Regions from separate parts of the Homo sapiens genome. Here region 2 is linked to region 1. Evidence: promoter capture Hi-C in 16 types of primary human blood cells and fetal thymus (Javierre and others, 2016). All regions are on one chromosome and are shown on one strand. Each heading gives the region's core, a stretch centred on a gene start or on the middle of the fragment in contact. The rest is flanking DNA. Distances are from core to core; before and after follow the strand shown. Region 1 holds the start of USF3 (upstream transcription factor family member 3). Region 2 holds the start of GSK3B-DT (GSK3B divergent transcript).

What was found. The method cuts DNA at HindIII sites, captures the fragments that hold promoters and counts their contacts. A CHiCAGO score of 5 or more calls a contact.
Region 2: a contact is called between a fragment that was not itself captured here and the fragment with the promoter of USF3 in region 1, in 1 of 17 cell types (fetal thymus). The highest score is 6.7, in fetal thymus.

What each region holds. Positions count from the first base shown.
Region 1 is chr3:113,695,231-113,697,992 of GRCh38, reverse strand. USF3 (upstream transcription factor family member 3) reads left to right here and starts at 1,351. Exons shown (of 7, transcript NM_001009899.4): 1 at 1,351-1,623. RefSeq lists silencers at 1,141-1,610, 1,631-2,020. The HindIII fragment of the contact is 8,785 bases long and covers 1-2,289 here.
Region 2 is chr3:120,094,636-120,097,397 of GRCh38, reverse strand. It overlaps GSK3B-DT (GSK3B divergent transcript), which reads right to left and starts at 2,294. Exons shown (of 3, transcript NR_186629.1): 1 at 1,620-2,294. RefSeq lists enhancers at 1,843-2,162, 2,442-2,736, 2,363-2,762. The HindIII fragment of the contact is 601 bases long and covers 1,212-1,812 here.

The DNA.
Region 1 (2,762 bases), core at 102-2,601:
ATTATGGCTCTGACTCGTAGAATCTTTCTTATCTGCAGTTTTGATTTGGATGTGCCAAGTCTGTTCAAAGGCTAATTAGAACTTCGTGTGCCTAGATGGATGAGTTAAAGAAAATTTCTAGCCTGTTTATTAGTACCACAGTTTATAAGCAACATTACAGGCCTTCCGTTTCATCATAGCTTTTCAATCTGCTGTACAAACATAAGACTCCGTTACTGTTAGCCTTTACCCTTTTGCTCAATGCGATGTCTGCTGCTTCTGTATACAGGCTCAAGTAATTCCCATTATGCCATGCCCTGTGTGCACCTTCTGGAAGTTAGCCCACGGACATCTAAGATCTGGGATATTTCCAAATCTGGTTGTGGAAGGGCTTGGAAATCTATAACCGCAACTAGGTGGAGGACACCTGTTTCAGCAGGAGGTTATAAAATATGAAGCGAAACTAGGAAGAGGGAGTTGTGATCACGGTTCCAAGGGCTCCACACAGATCCTGGAGTTAAGGGGCACTCAGGTCTCCATTTCGTGACCCCTGGCCCTACCTCTCCTAGATCCAGGTATTTAGTAACCCAGGCTTGAGATCTCAAACCCCATCCCCCAATGCCAAACTCCCTTGTCCCAGCTGGGAGGCCCCCAGGGCATTTCTGAACATGGCCATCTCCAATTCACAGAAATCTGTGTGTTGTTGCAAATAAAGGATGACAAGAGACCACAGCCTACGAATGCGAGCAGCGTCAAGTCAGCAACAATCTTCCAGTTATCGAGAAGTCGGAAACGTCTGATTCTTTCTTCTCCACATTTACTAAGACGTATCTTCTCACCTTCCTGCCCTCCACGTTAAGAGGGGCTAACTATTCCGAAAGACTTCCGTGCCCTCTTCCTTTTCAATTTTTCCACTTCCAAACTCCTACCGAAAGACGAAGAAAAGAGACCACAGAAGAAGATACAAAGAAGTTTCTTAAAACACCTTCTTTTCTAGGTTCTCAAGGCGTCCCCTTTAAGGAACCAGGCCCACCTCTTTCCCATTCACCTACTGGCTTTCCTTCCTGTCCGTCACTCTACCTTTAAGAATATTTCCTGTTTCTTCAACCCAACTTGCACACCTCCGCCCCCCGGCCCTCCTCATTGGGCCGCCCGATCCCCGTTCACTCCTTGGTTTCCTCTCCGCCTCCTCCCGCCCTCTAGCGTAGTGCAACGGCATTCTGTCTTCTTATTGGCTACCACGGCAGCGTTCCCGCAGCCTGATTGGCGGGTTGAGTGAAAGAGGCGGGAACGCGGCGCGCCCAGGGTAGGCTGTTCGCTTGCTGAGCTGCGGCCGCGGGAGGGGCGGGGAGGGGCGGGGGGAGGGGGGCTGGGAAAGTTGAGGCCGCGCTGCCGCCGGGTCTCCGGCCTTGAGGGCTCGGGCTCGCAGCGGCTGCGGTGGCCGCAAAAAGAGGCGGCGGGGGCGGGGGGAGAGGAGGGCCTGGGCCCGCGCTCCCCCAGCCCCGGAGGAGCAGGCGGTGGCCGCGGACGGAGAGATTCGCCCAGACGGTCAGACACTCCTGCCTTCCCCTCCTGGGATCATGACCCAGGCGGGGGTCGCCGCCGTCGCCGCCGCCACCGCGGCCGAGACCGCGCAGCCGGCGGGTAAGTGACTGCGGGAGGGGGCCGCTGACAGCCGGGGCGGGGGGCGGGGGCCAGGGCTGCGGGGGCGGCTCCGGAGGGCGGCCCCGGGCTCAGCTCCACCCACCCCCTTCCTGCTCCGGGAGGCCAGGGCTGCGCTAAGTGCGCCTCCTTCCTGGGGACCCTTGCGTGCGGCACCTGGTGGGGCGTCAGCGCCCGCGGCGAGCGCACCCCTCATCTCCCGCCCGCCCTGCGTCCCCGGCTGCCAGGCCCGTGGGGGGCTCGCACTGCGCCCCAGCTCCTAGATGCGCGCGGGGCGAGAGGGGCCCCACGCTGCCCTGGGTGCATAAAGAGCTGGGCAGCCAGGTTCACACCAGATGGCCTTTGCCCGCCTCCTTCACCTTTTCCTGTCTTCTTCATTCCCCTTCTTTCCTTGCCCTCTGAATTTCTTTCGTACCCGTTCGTCAGACTCATGTGGCTTGCTTTTTCCCTCTCACCCCTCTGTCGAAGTGTTAGGCTTGTGTTTTCTTTTTAGAAGCCGTTCTTTTGCTTTCTGAGTAGAAGCAGTGCAAGTGAATGACCAACTCTTGAAATCTACTTTCATGTATCCGGATGAAATATAAGATTCCTGGACTCTTGTTCATGTTTACAATTTTGATAGTTGAATTCACCCCACTCGTTCTTGAAGCTTGTCCTCCCAACCCTCCTCGTTACATTGGGATATGGTCCTTTGCGTTTATTAACTTTATCTGGAAATATGAGACTGCATAAACCAAAGTGCAGAATTTCAACTTCCGTTCTTGTAACATTTTTACCATCAAGTAGATACAGTAACCTAACACCACACAGATCAAGACAGTCGTGGCCAACTGTGTAGGCAAAGAAGACATTTCCTTACCTATAAACAACGTACAGATTTCTTGAATAAATCTTACGGTGAGTTACATGGATCCTGAAACATATTCCCAGGTTTGCTCTTTTGTAAAGAAAACCAAACAGACAAACCTGCCTTTTGAAGGATCAACAGGCTGTCCTACTCTCCATTCACCTTGATGACTTTTTTCTCTCCCATAGAACTCTTGTTTAACATAGTACAGAGTTGCTGTTTGGGATACATGTGTTGTTTCTCTTTAAGTACTCAAAGTATTTGTTACAAAAGAAGT
Region 2 (2,762 bases), core at 263-2,762, 6.4 Mb before region 1:
CCATCTGTACAACTGTACAACTATTCTTTGTCTAAACTAGTGGTTCATAAACTTTTTTTTTTTTTTTTTTTTTGAGACGGAGTTTTGCTCTTGTTGCCTTGGCTGGAGTGCAATGGTGCGATCTCAGCTCACTGCAACCTCCACCTCCTGGGTTCAAGCAATTATCCTGCCTCAGCCTCCCAAGTAACTGGTATTATAGACGCCCGCCACCACGCCCAGCTAAGTTTTAAAGTTTTAGTAGAGACGGGGTTTCACCATGATGACCAGGCTAGTCTTGAACTCCTAACCTCAGGCGATCCACCTGCCTCGGCCTCCCAAATTGCTGGGATTACAGTCATAAGCCACCACTCCTGGCTTGTCCATAAACTCTTGATCTTGAGCTAACATGATATGCACATTATAAGATACACACAGAAATAAAAAAAGGATTAAAGGTGCACTATTTTAAAGATAAATTTCAACCGGCCCGGTGTGGTGGCTTACGCCTGTAATCCTGACACTCTGTGAGGCTGAGGCAGGCAGATCACCTGAGGTCGGGAGTTCGAGACCAGCCTGACCAACATGAAGAAACCCCGTCTCTACTAAAAATACAAAAGTAGCTGGCATGGTGGCACATGCCTGTGATCCCAACTACTTGGGAGGCTGAGGCAGGAGAATCACTTGAATCGGGGAGGCGGAGGTTGCGGTGAGCCGAGATCGCGCCACTGCACTCCAGCCTGGGCAACAAGAGTGAAACTCCGTCTCAAAAATAAATAAATAAATAAAGATACATTTCAATTATTTAAGGTCCCAAACCATTTTGTTTTCACCCTCCTACTGCTATCGGGCCCCTAACAATTATTAACACTTTTTCCAATGCCTCATTGGCCAAGGGATGTTTTTAGGTTGGCCTGCAGGGTTTGAAAATTTGGTTACCAACATTTAAAAATGCAGAGATTTCACACAAAAATCCAATTTTGGGGTTTCTTTTGGGAGGAAAAAAATTGAACATCTGAGAACACTGGACCCACATTCCTGAGGGCAACAATCTGCTAGAGTTGAGCAGCTGTTCCTTTTAGTTATGGCATGGATATTCCAATTTGCCATTTTCCCTATCATTCCCCATTGTCTTACACAAGGCCAGTCTCACTCATTTGCTTTACTTGTCTGGCCTCTGTAGCCATTTGAATCTGCAAACACTATCTAGACCTTTCCTGTCTTCCATCAAAGCTTACTTTGTTCTGTCCCAAGTCCTTCATCAGTGTTTCAAAGCAAGAGCCAGGTAATCTGATCAAATATAGGTCCTTTAACATGTGCTTTCTGGAGACAGCATCTTAACAGAAAGAGATGACTCTGCAGGTAGAAATTACAGGCACCACTGGATTACAATCAGGATGGCAACTGTCTGTTCTACTTTCTCTGTTATCTTGACGTAGCCATACCTCACTGTTCTAAAGCAGACCAAAGGAACTGGTTCTATGGTAGAACAATGGACGCTGGTCTTATGTATGAAATCTTCTCAAGCTGCACTTTTATAGATCACCCTAGTTCCAAAAGATCCAAAGCTACCACGGGCTCCTCTGACCCCCCCATTTCCTCGGAGGCTTCAGGATATCCGGCCTGACGGCATTTCCCCTCACCTGCTTTCGGGGCCCGTTTTGCGCTGGGCAGTTGCGCCCAAGGAGCGCGCGCATCCAGCATGAGCTCATTTCTCATGGGCGTTTCCAGAGGCCCGGCCGGGCCGCGCACACCAAGCGCAGCAAGCCTCTGTATCAATGGCCCCCGCGGCTGGGCGGGGCGCGGCCGCCCAAAGGCGCTGCCTTTCTGGAAGCTTTGTTCCCATTTTAGCGTCTGAGAGCTTGCAGCCGGCTGGGAAGGCCCCCTTGGTCCGTCTGGCCCTTTCGGGGAAGAGGCCAACACTCGGCACACGCGATCCACGGCAGAGGGGAGCCTTGGGCGCGCAGAATTGGCTGCGCCCCGCCGAGAGCCTCCTGTGGGTGGGGAGAGCCCCTCCACCCCTCTGCTCGCTTGAGCGCTCAGAGCCCAGGGCCGCCGACCGCAGCACTTTCCGATTTGCTGCACCGAGGGCCCGCGGTCCCTGTGTGCGGTTTCCACCGTTGTTGGAGGCGGCCGCAGGCGAACCGTCGGGTCGTCAGCCACGACCCGAGTCAGGCATCTCCCCGCTCCTGGGACCGGGGCCGAAGGCCAATCACACTGCAGCTAGGTCTTGCGATTGGACGGCAGTGAGAGCCGATTGGCCGCCGCCGCGAGTTTCGGGCTCCCTCCCTCTCCCTTTTGCCCCAACTCCAGCGCCTAAGCTTCAGGCCAATGAGACAGCGCTTTATAGACGCCCTCCCTTCGCTTTCTTCTCCCCACCTTGGAGAGGGAGGGGAAGTCCTGACTGGCCAGACTGTCCTCGGAAGCCCCCTTCTCTTCACCAATCACCGAAGGAGGTACGCTCCCAGCGGAGTTTTCCAGCCAATCACAAAGCGGCGGCGGCGCCCAGCCGTGCAGTTTCACCAGCGTCTCTGGGTTTCACCGTCCTCAACTCTTCAAGCCTCTTCGTAAGGGCCGGCGACTCTGATTGGCCACTGTTGCCATTGTCGAATGTCTCCTCCAGCCAGCCACCGAACAAGGCGAATTCACCCTTTCCGTTCGGCTACCTTCGGCATTTTCCGCTCTTTGGGCGTGGCTTCCCAGCGTCACTTTCTAATTGGTTTCTCAGGCTGATCGGCTTTTTCCGGGAGGAGCCGCAAACAAACGACGTCCGTGATTGGCTCCGT